2 separate regions of the Homo sapiens genome follow, and region 1 is linked to region 2. The links are contacts of gene promoters, found by promoter capture Hi-C in human tissues and cell types (Jung and others, 2019). All regions are on one chromosome and are shown on one strand. Each heading gives the region's core, a stretch centred on a gene start or on the middle of the fragment in contact. The rest is flanking DNA. Distances are from core to core; before and after follow the strand shown.

Region 1 (5,934 bases), core at 756-3,255, 61 kb after region 2:
GTCTTTCTATCTTCCTCTAGCAGGTCAGTCCAGAAATGTCCTTGTGGCTATGGGAGAGAGGGAAAAAGAGAGAGAGAGAGATTGAGAATAAACAAGTCAATTTCACAAATACTTTCAAGCCCAATTGGCTAAAGCAAATCCCATGGCCAAGCCCATACAGCCTGAGTGAGAAGTCACATGACAAAGGGCAGGGATCCTGGGAGGGATGAAGAACTGGGGCTTTCTTTAGTCTACCATGGCAAACTACTGTAGGGGCTAAGGGAAAGTTCCCCTTGGCCTGCTGAAGGTTTGCTGAAAAATCAACTCATAAAAGGGGGATTAATTGGAGAAAAGGCATACAAATTTACTTACCATATATACCCAGGAGCCTTCAGAATGAAGACCCAGTCTCCCAATGGGGTACAGAAGCTTGTGTACCATCTTGAGTTTACAGAGAGAATGGAGGCTTGGATCCTGGCAAAACATGTTTATGGTAGTGGGGAGAAGAGGAATTCTGGTAAGGGGGAATAAGTGGTTGCTAGGGAGAGTTCAATGGTCTTGAAGAACATACAAGGGTCTAGGACAAGGGCCCGAAGAGCAGACAAGGGCTTCTGACAAAAGCCTATCCAGATTTGTTGACAGACTTTGGTCTTCCTTCTTGAGAAATGGGTTCAGTTAATGAAAACTCAGGAAGGGACTGGAGGTAATTGTTTCCTTCTTTGGGAGGTCCAGACTTTAGGCAGACAAAGAACTTCAGAGAATCACATTTACATTCCAACAACAGGAAGAAAGAAGGGCTGAAATGGGATGGATGCCCCTCCCTTTAAGGACAATCCCCAGTGGTTGTACACACAACTGCTGACTACATCCTGTGGTAAATGCTGTGCCCATTCTCACTTCCTTACATAGTCATAGCATTTGATAATAGCATTAACTGGTCATAGAGCGGCTCAACTGATGACTGCATTTTACAGCCTCCTGTACAGCTAGATGTGGTCATGTGACTAAGTTCTAGCCGGTAGAGTGTGAATAGATATGATATTTACAGCTACTACTTGTGACCTAAGAGGGAAGAAGTATGATCTTCCTTTCCACTTCCCCCTGTCTGGGATGTGGGTATGATGGCAGGAGTGGCAGCAGCCATCCTACATGAGATGAAGGTCTTATATTGAGAATGAGAGACCAACAAGATACAAGGGCCATACGCTCTTATGCTACATTAGAAACAAATACATTTCTCCTTTACTTAGGCTGCTACTATTTTGGGTGTCTCTGGTTTTAGTAGCCAAACCAATATCCCGTCTAATACACAACCCATCAGTCTGTACTTATCATAAGGCGACACTGCCTCAAGGGTGCCTGGGAAATGTGATCTTTATTCTGGGAAGCCATGTGCCTGGCTGATGACTGGGGGGAACATCATTAATTAGGAAGAGCACATACCTGAGCAAAACCCCAGTCCCAGCCACTGAAGGAATAATAGCAATAGTCACTGTGGGTACTTATGGGGAGCTGGGCACTGTGCTGGCCACTTCACCTCCATGTCCTCATTGAATCTGCACAGCTACTCTGAGGACAAGTATTAGAATGTCAATTTTAAAATTTTAAATTTTTAAAAGACTGGCCAGGTGTGGTGGCTCACGCTGTAATCCCAGCACTCTGGGAGGCCGAGGCGGGCAGATCACCTGAGGTTGGGAGTTCAAGACCAGCCTGGCCAACATGGAGAAACCCCGTCTCTACTAAAAATCAAAAATTAGCCAGACGTGGTGGTACATGTCTGCAATCCCAGCTACTTGGGAGGCTGAGGCAGGAGAATCACTTGAACCCAGGAGGTGGAGGTTGCAGTGAGCCGAGATCACGCCATTGCACTCTAGCCTGGGCAACAGAGAGAAACTCTGTCTCAAAAAAAAAAAAAAAAAAAAAAAAAAAAGGAGGGAGACTGAGGCCCAAGAGTTTAAGAGACTGACCAAGGTCACACAGCTCCTAGGAGTGGAACTGGGATTCAGACAAAGTCTCTCTAGGTCTGTTCATCTCCTAAACCAGTGGTTCTCCAAGCATGCTTCCTGGGCCAGCAGGATCAGCATGAAAACTTGTTAGAAAAGCAAATTATCTTAGAAATCAGATGCTTGGGGTGGGGCCAGCGATGTGCAGTTGAATAAGCCCTCCAGGTCATACAGGTGCACACTCAGTTTGAGAGCCACTGCTCCAAGCCAAACCTAAAAATGGTGCACACTTCACCTCCTCTCTCCCCAGACAAACCCAACAAAGAATAATAATCTAACCATGACCAGATCTAGACCTCAGTTCACCTGCCGGCTCTGCCTTGGAACTTAGCTTAACTTAAACAAGCAGGGTCTCCTCTGGATTGGATGAGACCTCCCTCCTCCCTACTAGGGGTAGGCAGAGAGATCATGGCCCCAGGCCCCAGATGGAGTTCTGGGGTGAAAACAGGAGGTTCACACAGTCTTGGAATCAAGCCCTTTGAGCATCTGATATTTCCGTTGGATGCATGAATTTTGGGTGTCACTCATATTCTCTCTCTCTCTCCTTCTCCCTCCCTCCATTCTCCCAGTCTCAGGACACTACTGCCCAAGGCATAGTTGGTTTCAAGGTAGTGGGAGTTTGTGACATAGGCTTGGGTGGGATGGGGGTCATTTCTTCTTCCTTCCATGGGCAGGAGGTGATGAGATGATGACTCATGTTTATTGATGTCTGAGGCAGACCATTTTCTGAACTCTTTCCATGCATTAACCCCCTTATCCTAGCAACCATGTGTGGGAGGTACTATTACTATTCCCATGTTAGAGGTGGAGAAACCGAGGCACCGACAGGTTAAGCACCTTTCCACAGTCTGTCACACAGCAGTGAGCGGAGCAGCTGAGCGCCGAACATAATGTGGCTCCATTGTCTGTGCTCTTAGCCGCTGAGCTTTTCAGCCTCTAAATAATAGCTAATGAATTCATGGGTTTTTTTTGTTTTCTTTGTTTTTTTTTTGTTTTTGGCCTTTTTTTTACATTCCAGGTACTGTTGTCATTGCTTTACATATTTAAAAAAGTCGGGGAGTGGTATTCTTACCATCACAAGAAGTTAGGAATTTCCAGCAGAGCCTTGGCATTGGTGGATTGAACATTTGTGGTTTGGGTTACTTTTTAGTGGATCGTGTGTGTGTGTGTGTGTGTGTGTGTGTGTGTGTGCGCGTGCCTGCAAGCATCTATCTCACCAGGAGAAGTGGGGAAGGAGAGGCCAGAGGTTGTTGCTCTCCCTGTGGTGTCATGTTCTAAAATGAGCCCGCACATCACACTTGTGGTTCCTGGGGAAAAAAATAAAACAATCTCCACTACCAGTCAAAACAACAATATTTGTACAGCTCCGGTAATAACCTCTGGAACCCTCCTCCCTTCTGGCTTGCAGACAGTGCCTTGCCCTCAGCTCACTCTTACTCCCAGGGTCCCTGCAGCCTTCTTCCCACGAAGCTCATGTTCTTGGGCTCACAGTAGTCTCCTGGTGGTTCAGGGCTCACCTGTCCTGGAAAGTGTTCCAGATGGCTTTGGCCTCCACTTTGGGTAGGACTCAGGACTTGAGAACGCAATGCCACCATGTCATTGCTCTCTCTTCCTTTGACCTGTGTGATGCCAGACTCCATGGTTCTCCTTCTACCCCTGTGATATAGAGTCCTGTGTCTCTTCTTCTTCCTCAAGTTCAGTTGTTTCCTTCTCTTTCTTCCTTTCTTTTCCATTTACCTTTCCCTTTCCTTCCCTTCTCTTCCCTGTCTTAGCACTCCTTCTGTCCCGCCTCATTCCAACTCCTCTGCCTAGCTCTTGAGGTTCTTCTACCTGGCCTACTCTCCCTCCTCCCTACCTGCTGATCAGGGACCAGTTCAGGTCCTCATACCTTGATCCAGAATTTCCTGATGCCTCCAGGCTGACTGTATCACCTCTCCTTCTGACCACCTATGGCTCTCCAGCACTGAGTCAGCCCCACTAGCTCAAGCATTTGAATCACTCTCAACTTACTAGGCATTCATTTAAACATTTATTCTGCACCCACCATTACAAGGCCTGCCTTCTCCTCTGCATGAAAAACTCCTACACATCCTTCAAAGCTCACCCAGATGTATTCCCGTCCTGCCTTGGCTCCCCTCTCCCATAGCCAAGTGGGTGTTCCTGTCTGCCCTCATGCCTCTTGTACGTTACAGGAATGGTTGACATATACGCAGCAGACGCTGACAGTGCCCTGCCTGCTCTGCACCCACCATGCTCATGTACGCTGCAGGTTTCCAATCCGCAAATGCTGGGGAGTTAACACCATCCTACTCCAAGTGATGAGGAATGGGATTTGGGGAATATATGCCCCCGGCTCTCTACCCCTTAGAGGGGACAACTGTAAGCCATGCTCTATGCAGGCTTGCAGAGGTCTCCAGCGGGAAGGAGCGCAACTGCCCACAGTGGTCACCTGCTCATTAATGCTGTCTGCATTGTTTCCCTTTTCTTCTCTTGTTTTAATTCCATGCTTCTTGGAATCATTTCCCAAATAAACTATTTGCAGCCAGATCCTGTCCCAGGATCCACTTGTGGGGAATTCAAATGGAGAAGACAAATCGTATAGAACTTGCACTGCGCCAGACACTAGGTTCTCGATTTACATTAACACATTTAATCCACACAACAGCTTTCCATATAAGGCAGATACCGCTATTAGCATTTCTACTTCATATTTGAGGAAATTGAGGCATAGGGAGGCTAAGTAGGAGGCACAAGTGTCCCGCTTTTCCTGGAAATAAGGGGGTTCCTTGGAGATGGTACTTTCTCAGGACAGTGTGAGGATGAGAGGAAAGATGAAATGAGTTGGTCACCCAAGGTGAAGTGATTTGCCAAAGTCACACAGGAGTGAGTGGCGGGCCTGGGACTGAACCCGGGCCCACCAGCACAACATGGACTGCACTGCTTGGTGGGGCCTTTTACATGAATCTGCTTCCCTACTAGATGGCAGGGATCACATTTTATCCACTTCTGTGTCTCTAAGTTTTGCACTGAGGAATTAGACATTGGGGGTACAGGGAAAAGATGAGTTAAACACAGCCCCTGCACCTAGGGAGCACCTAGTCACATGGGGGAGGCATTGTTTCTGATGCCGTGAAGCCCCCAGTCTGATGGAGGAGTTCCTTGTGGGGAACATGATCTGTCCCTTCCTGCCTGACTTCTCTGCAGGGCTGACAACACAGCTTGGGGGAGCTTCTGTTCCTTCCCTTCTGCCACTGTCCCCACAGGCAAGGGCGACGGGGTCTTCCTGGCCTCCTGCCTGGGTCTCTACCCTCTTGCCATCACTCAGAGCAAGTCACTCCCTAGTCAGGGTGGCTGAATTGATTCTTCCATGACTTTAATTCAGTACTTTGAGCCCCACTCCCCCAGCAGGCTGCAGGGAAACAGTAAAAGATTGATGAACTGGGTGTTGGGATCAGTCCTGTCCTTGCTGGGCACAGATGGCACTTTCCAAGGGCCCGTTGAAGAGCATGTAATGAAGAAACTATGTGTAGAGTGTGGGCAGGTCCACGTGCATGACACGGTATGACTCCCAGGGATCAGCAACAGTGGGGAGTCATTACTACTCTGGGGCTGAAGGGCAAGGGTGATGCTATTACATCACCCAGCTGATGCCACGACCCTGGGAGTGCAGCCACTCCCAAAGCCAGGGCCTGCAGAGAGAGGGCTGATACAACCCTAACTTCTCTCTCCTCCTACCTTCCATCATGGCCCCTCTCAGGCCTGATCAAACTGGAAGTCAAAGACGGAAGGAGCCTGGTGACACAGCGCATGGAGTTCAGGGGTTCAGAGAAAGTCAGAGAGTGGATGGAGAGAGGGAGCCAAGACAGAGTAACAACTAGAGAGTGGTGCTGAGGACTCACGCCCACCCCTCTGCTCTGGCCCCGAGCCCCCAAGCCAAGAGCCTGACCCTTAG
Region 2 (5,754 bases), core at 3,068-5,567:
ATGTATCCTTTTCTCCAGCAGCTCGGAGTGTAGCCTAATTCTTTGTATCCTGAGAGTCTTGCCCAGTGTCTGGCACATGGTGGATACTTAATAAATGCTTGCTAATTTCCATGTACTTTGAAACATGAAACTTAGATGTGAAAACTGACTCCGCTCTATGTGATCCCAGACAAGTTACACTGGCTTTTCCCCTAATTTTCCTCATTTATGAGGTGGCCTGCAAGATTAAATTAAAATAAGAATGTATATAAAGTGCTTATTCAAAGTGGTCTGGTGCACGGTGGGCTCTCAAATCCTTCCTGTTTCTGATCACTGCCCACCAGAGGCAGAAGGTTGAGAAGGGCTGTCCTTCCTCCCCTTCAATCACACCCCCACTGTTTTTGGTGGGACAGGGGTTGGGGACTTCCAAAATGAGAAGCGCAGAGGGGTGGACTGATGTATTACTTCAGTAACAGAGGTGCTGGGTCAGCCAGGCAACAACACAGGAGACGCCTGTATGCCATTACCTGTGCTAGGGGAAATAGAAAATAGAATTTTCCAGCAGATCAGGGTCCAGCTGAACCAATTTCCTAAGCTCAGTTACAGAGCAACAATCTTCACAGGCCCAAGAGGGAGGTGCAAGCTCCTGGGGCAGACTGCCTGGTCATTGCCCCTCCCCGTCCCGCCCCATAGGCTGTGCCTCCTGTGGTGTCCCTGTGGCCATTCTATCTTCTCTGGGCTTCAGCTTGCTTACTTGAATACATACTGTAAAGAGTACCTGAAATAAGGCAGGTAGGTAAAGCTGCCTTCCTCAATAAATGCTAAGGTCAGGAGACCTGTTCACTTTTTATAGACATCTTGCCTAATGTTTCTACTCTATTGGAGCCTCACCAAACACTCATTTTGCAGATGAGGAAAGGAAGGCAAAGTTAAGTTACATGGCTTGATGGGTAAATGGCCGAGCCAGATGGCAAAACCAGCCTGTGCCCTCTCTCATAAAATGAGGATAATAGCACCCACAATGCCCAACACAGAGTAGGTGTGCTGTAAATGTTAACTTCCCTTGTGTGAGTCTGCAATTTAGGAAGAGGTTGGGAGAATGAGTCACCAAAGATCTTGCTTGAGAGCAAGGGTTCAAGATGGTTCTGAAGACAGGAAAGAGGACGATCACGTGGTCCCAGGCTGGCGGGTCACTGAGCACTTGAAAGTCAGCCTGCACCTCACTTCAACCACAGCGGAGGGAAGGAAGTATCTGACAATTCGGGGGGTATTTCTAAAGAAAGTTGACTTAACTCCCTTTCTCACACATTTGAAAGAGCACACACAACTTTCAGGGTAAGAGAAACCCCAACTCAGACTGCACCCCATCTCTTCCAACAATCTTTGTCCCACCCCTGGTTGTACCCCAGGAATTCCTAGCTAGGGGCTCCTTCATGATTCCAAGGTGATTCAGAACCAGCTAAAACACAGAGCGTCAGGTGGAAAATGCCCAAGCAGCCAGATGGGAAAGAAGATTTTTGAGTTTTCATTTTTCCTTAAACCAATATCCTGAGGCCTGAGGCAGTACCCCAAGTCACAAGAAAGCAGAGCAAGGCAGATTTCTGCAGATTAAAACTGATGTCAGCAAATGCTTCTACTTGTCCATTTTCATTTCTTGGGGTTTTTCCTATGACGGGAAGGGACTCGCCCAGTTGGGGTTGGTTTGGGAGTTTCTTTGGCCGGGGATGAGGACAGGGCTGTCCTTGTTCAAGAACTTATCTATAATAGCCTCCAAAGCAGACTGGCTTGATGCCCAAGTCCTTTTTCTAAAAATTACCTGCCCATTACTTTTTTTTGGTAGGGGGGTAAATGTTGACAGATTTAACAGGACTGCTAAATAAGAGGCATTTTGTTTGTTCAAATACCTTAAGAAGCCGTCTAGCCTCCAAAGCTATGACCACCAGCTGCACCCGGCTGCCTAACCCCTGGACCCCGCCCCCCCCGCCGTATGCCCCGCCAGCCTTTCCCTTTGCCTTGTGTTTTGAAGTTTATTTTCCCACATTTAGCCTTGAATTCTTTCCTTCCTTCCCCTGCAGTGTTGGAGCAACAGCTTAGAGGGAAACACTTCGAGGGCAGCTCAAGGCTTTATCATCCTTGCCTGCCCTCTTCCCCCTCTAAACAAAGCCCTGGAACAAACTAAACAAAAACTTGTTCTCTAGAGGAATTGTTTCCTCAAGGGAAATCATAAAGCAACCCCCTCCCCACAACACACCCCCCAGGGTAGACGCCCATCAGAAGGAAGCCATGTAGACTCTTCATGCCAGGACTCTTGCTGTTAGGAGGTAAACCAACCAACCATCTACTGAAGCTTATCCTCCCCACCATCACCTCCCATCTGCCTCTACCCGGGAAACTGCTACAGGGCAAGAGACTCTCCACTAAAATCCAACACTAAGCCTGCTAGACTAAACCTCCCCTTCTACAGGACCCCTTGGAGGACAAGTCTCCCCACACACGGCTGCCAGCAAATACGTATATGCTTATCTGTGTGATGTCCATCAATCTGGGGACAAGATTTTGATGTTTTCCAAATGCTTCCAACCTAACAGTCCGTGGCAGAAATAAGGAATGAGGATGGGCTCATTCCCGTTTCTCACATGGGGAAACGGAGGCTGGAAAATGAGCGACGACTAGATAGGCATAAAGTATTGAGGTGCTGCTGTAGACTAAACGTTGCTTCTCATCAGACCTCCTTTCTGGCATCTTTCACCCTGAGAGCAAGGTAACACCCTGGACAATCTACCCCTACTCCCTACCTGCTGCAATCTAGAACTTTCACCCAGGTCCTGGTCATTCCACTGGGGGAGCAGGCCAAGAAGAGTTGATGGTTGAAGCTGAGCCCTCGAGAAACTGGGGTAGAGGGCCTCGGTCCCCAAATGGGCCCCAAGGTCTCAGCCAGGATAGGCAGCCCGTTTATCCAAAGTGAGGTCAATGCCACCCATCGGGCTGTGCACCAGAAAATAAGCGGTTCCCAATGTCAGCACGGAGGGAAGTCCCCCACCCACCCCAATTCCGCACACACTCTCCTCCCCCATCATAAAGGGACTACGCGGGTATTATTCGTTTGTGCAACCTGCTACTTTCACAAAGTTTTACTCCAAGCCCTTGAAGGATGTCTCCGCGAGATAAGCCTTCCCGGAAGCCTGAGCGCGTCCCCAGCATTCCAGGCACCAGCCCTCATCCCGTGGGTTCGGGCCCCACAGAGCCTCCAGCTCCTCTCCGGAACTCTGCTGGGGGCGGAAGATTTTGCCCAGGCTCGGGCTGAGGGACCCTCCCGCCACTCTGCCGGGTTCACGTTCCTTAAGAAAAGCCTGGCAGGCGTGGCACTGGCCCTGGAGCGGGGAGGTGGAGACACGAGGGGATGGCACCAGGCTTGGCTCCCAGACTCCGGGAGCGTCTCCAGGGAAAGATAAACGCCTTTATCCGTCCCACAGCCTCTTCCCAAGGAGGGAGGTACCGTCACACCCACACTGAAACACCGTGGAGCCTAGTTCACCCGGGAATCAACTCCAATTTGTCTCCGGCCAAACTAAGTTCCAAAGAGTCTCCGCGCCTGGGGGACCCCTGTGTCCCTCGGGTGAGCGACAGATCCTCGAAGCCTGACCCATGATGAGACACGCTCTCTCATCACCCCCTGGACCTTCCACAGGGACTGAGGGTCACCCAAAGCTGTGAAGGGGTCTTCCTTTCAGCGCCCCCTAAAGCTCAAGCCAGCTTCAGATGTATATGGGGGTACAGGCGGCGACTGACCTCTAGGATCTTGTCCAGGCCCTCCTGACCCAGGCACGGGAACTCCTTGAGCAGATGCAGCTTCTGTGTGTAGTAGTTTTTCTTGGCCTCCTTCCAGTGTGGCTCCTCCAGCACTTCGAAGATCGCCGCCCCGATGGCCAGGTAGAAGATGATGGCCGAGGTGAGCAGAGGGCCCCGGTCCACCATGGCTCCCGAGCGGCCGCCTCCTAGAGAAAGCCTCTCCTAGCCCCAGCTGCTACCAGTCCGCCCGCCCTCCAGCCTCTGAAAACAGCTGTTTGAATTTGGAGCTCCGCATGCGCAGTGCCCGGTACTCACCCCCCGCAAGCACCGCTCCCCGGACAGAGTTGCTTGGCCAAGTTGGCCCACGGAGTGCGGGGAGCTGCGTGGGGCCCCACTCACGCGGCCCGGGGTGGGCGAACACCAGCGGGGCTGAAAGGGCGCCCTGGACCGCGGATGCGTAAGGAGCGGGAAGAACACAGGACTTGACTCTGGGCAGACACGTGGGCCGCTTCTCCACGCGTCGCTCCTCCGCGCGCCACTAGCAGTATGCGCCGCGCCCGCCTCCGCACGCCTCTTTAACCAGCGCCCGGCGCGCTCTGCCCCCTTGCTCCGGGCTCCGACCGGGGAGGAGCCCAGGCGGGCCCCGCCCCTTCCCCGCACAAGCAGCCCGGCGAGCGCAGGAGTGAGCGCGAGGTGAGCGCTAGAAGAGGCTTGGCGCTCCCCGCGCTCCCAGGGTCAGCCGCCAGGGGAGGCTGCGCCGCCCGCCCAGACCTGCACGCCCTGCGGTGCCCGAGGGGTTGCGGTCTCAGGGACTCGTGTTTGTTATTAGGACTGGCGTGTTAACTAAAATGATTGTGACTGAGGTCAGGAGTTTATTGCTTTTGTTATTTTTATTGTAATTCCATTTTCATTTACTGATGTTTCTTCCAAAAAAGTCTAATGCTCAGTCTCTCCGTGTCTCTCTTCCACACACTTTCTTGTAAGCCTGAGGAAGGGGGTTAGAACGGGGCTGAAGAAGCTGTAGGGAATCAGAGGACATCAGGAACTAATCCAGCCACCCACGCGTGATTCCTCCCCCTCACCCCGTTCTCACCTACCCGGGTGAGAACCCTGCATCTGGAAGGAGTGGGCAGCTCAATTCGTGGCACCCCTGTGCGCCCCCCCAATACACAGTATCTCTACGGGAAACACTTGGCCTCTTTTCTTTTTTTCTTTTCTCTTTTCTTTTCTCTTCTCCTTTCCTCTCCTTTCCTCTTTTCTTTCAGACGGAGTCTCACTCTGTCGCCAGGCTGGAGTGCAGTGGCACTATCTCGGCTCACTGCAACCCCCGCCTCCCGAGTTCAAGCAGTTCTTCTGCCTCAGCCTCTCAAGAAGCTGGGACTACAGGCGCACGCCATCACGCCCAGCTAATTTTTGTATTTTTAGTAGAGACGGGGTTTCACCGTGTTGGCCAGGCTGGTCTCAATTCCTGACCTCAGGTGATCCGCCCGCCTCAGCCTCCCAAAGTGCTGGGATTACAGGCGTGAGCCACCGCGCCCGGCCCACTTTCATACATATGCTCCAGCTGATTTAAAATTCCACCCCCGCCACCTTATCTCCCTCGTTGGCTTTATGTCCTTCCTAGTACTAAATTCCCTCTGCTATATTATATAACTTTATTTATTGTTTACTCTGTATTGTGCCCTCTCCCCGCCACACACACACAGACACACACACACACACACACACACACACACACACACGGAAATGTCTGCTGGGGAGATGGAGAATCTGTCTTGTGTAATGATGTATCCACAGTGCTTGTTACATACATAGCAGACACTCAATAACCATGTGTGCAATGAAGGAGTGAATGAATTTGTTAAAAACAGGTGCCCAGGATGTTTCTAACTCGCCTTGCTGCCATTCTCTGAGCTCTTGTAAACCCCAGGAAGTACTGAATCCCTTCCATGCATCATAAGCAGGCCCTGTCATTCGACCCACTTT

The links. Contacts are between HindIII fragments. The study calls those that stand out against the background at their distance.
Region 1: a fragment that was not itself captured here is called in contact with the fragment with the promoter of KCNK5 in region 2 in 1 of the 25 tissues and cell types used here (psoas muscle).

The regions. Positions count from the first base shown.
Region 1 is chr6:39,288,756-39,294,689 of GRCh38, forward strand. No RefSeq gene overlaps it. Among named protein-coding and RNA genes, the nearest start is that of KCNK17, 23 kb to the right of the region's middle. RefSeq lists an enhancer at 2,711-3,212. The HindIII fragment of the contact is 7,015 bases long and covers 1-5,513 here.
Region 2 is chr6:39,225,158-39,230,911 of GRCh38, forward strand. KCNK5 (potassium two pore domain channel subfamily K member 5) reads right to left here and starts at 4,318. Exons shown (of 5, transcript NM_003740.4): 1 at 3,769-4,318. The coding sequence starts at 3,954. RefSeq lists enhancers at 516-810, 4,896-5,623 and silencers at 2,996-3,065, 4,079-4,158, 4,259-4,608. The HindIII fragment of the contact is 12,761 bases long and covers 1-5,754 here.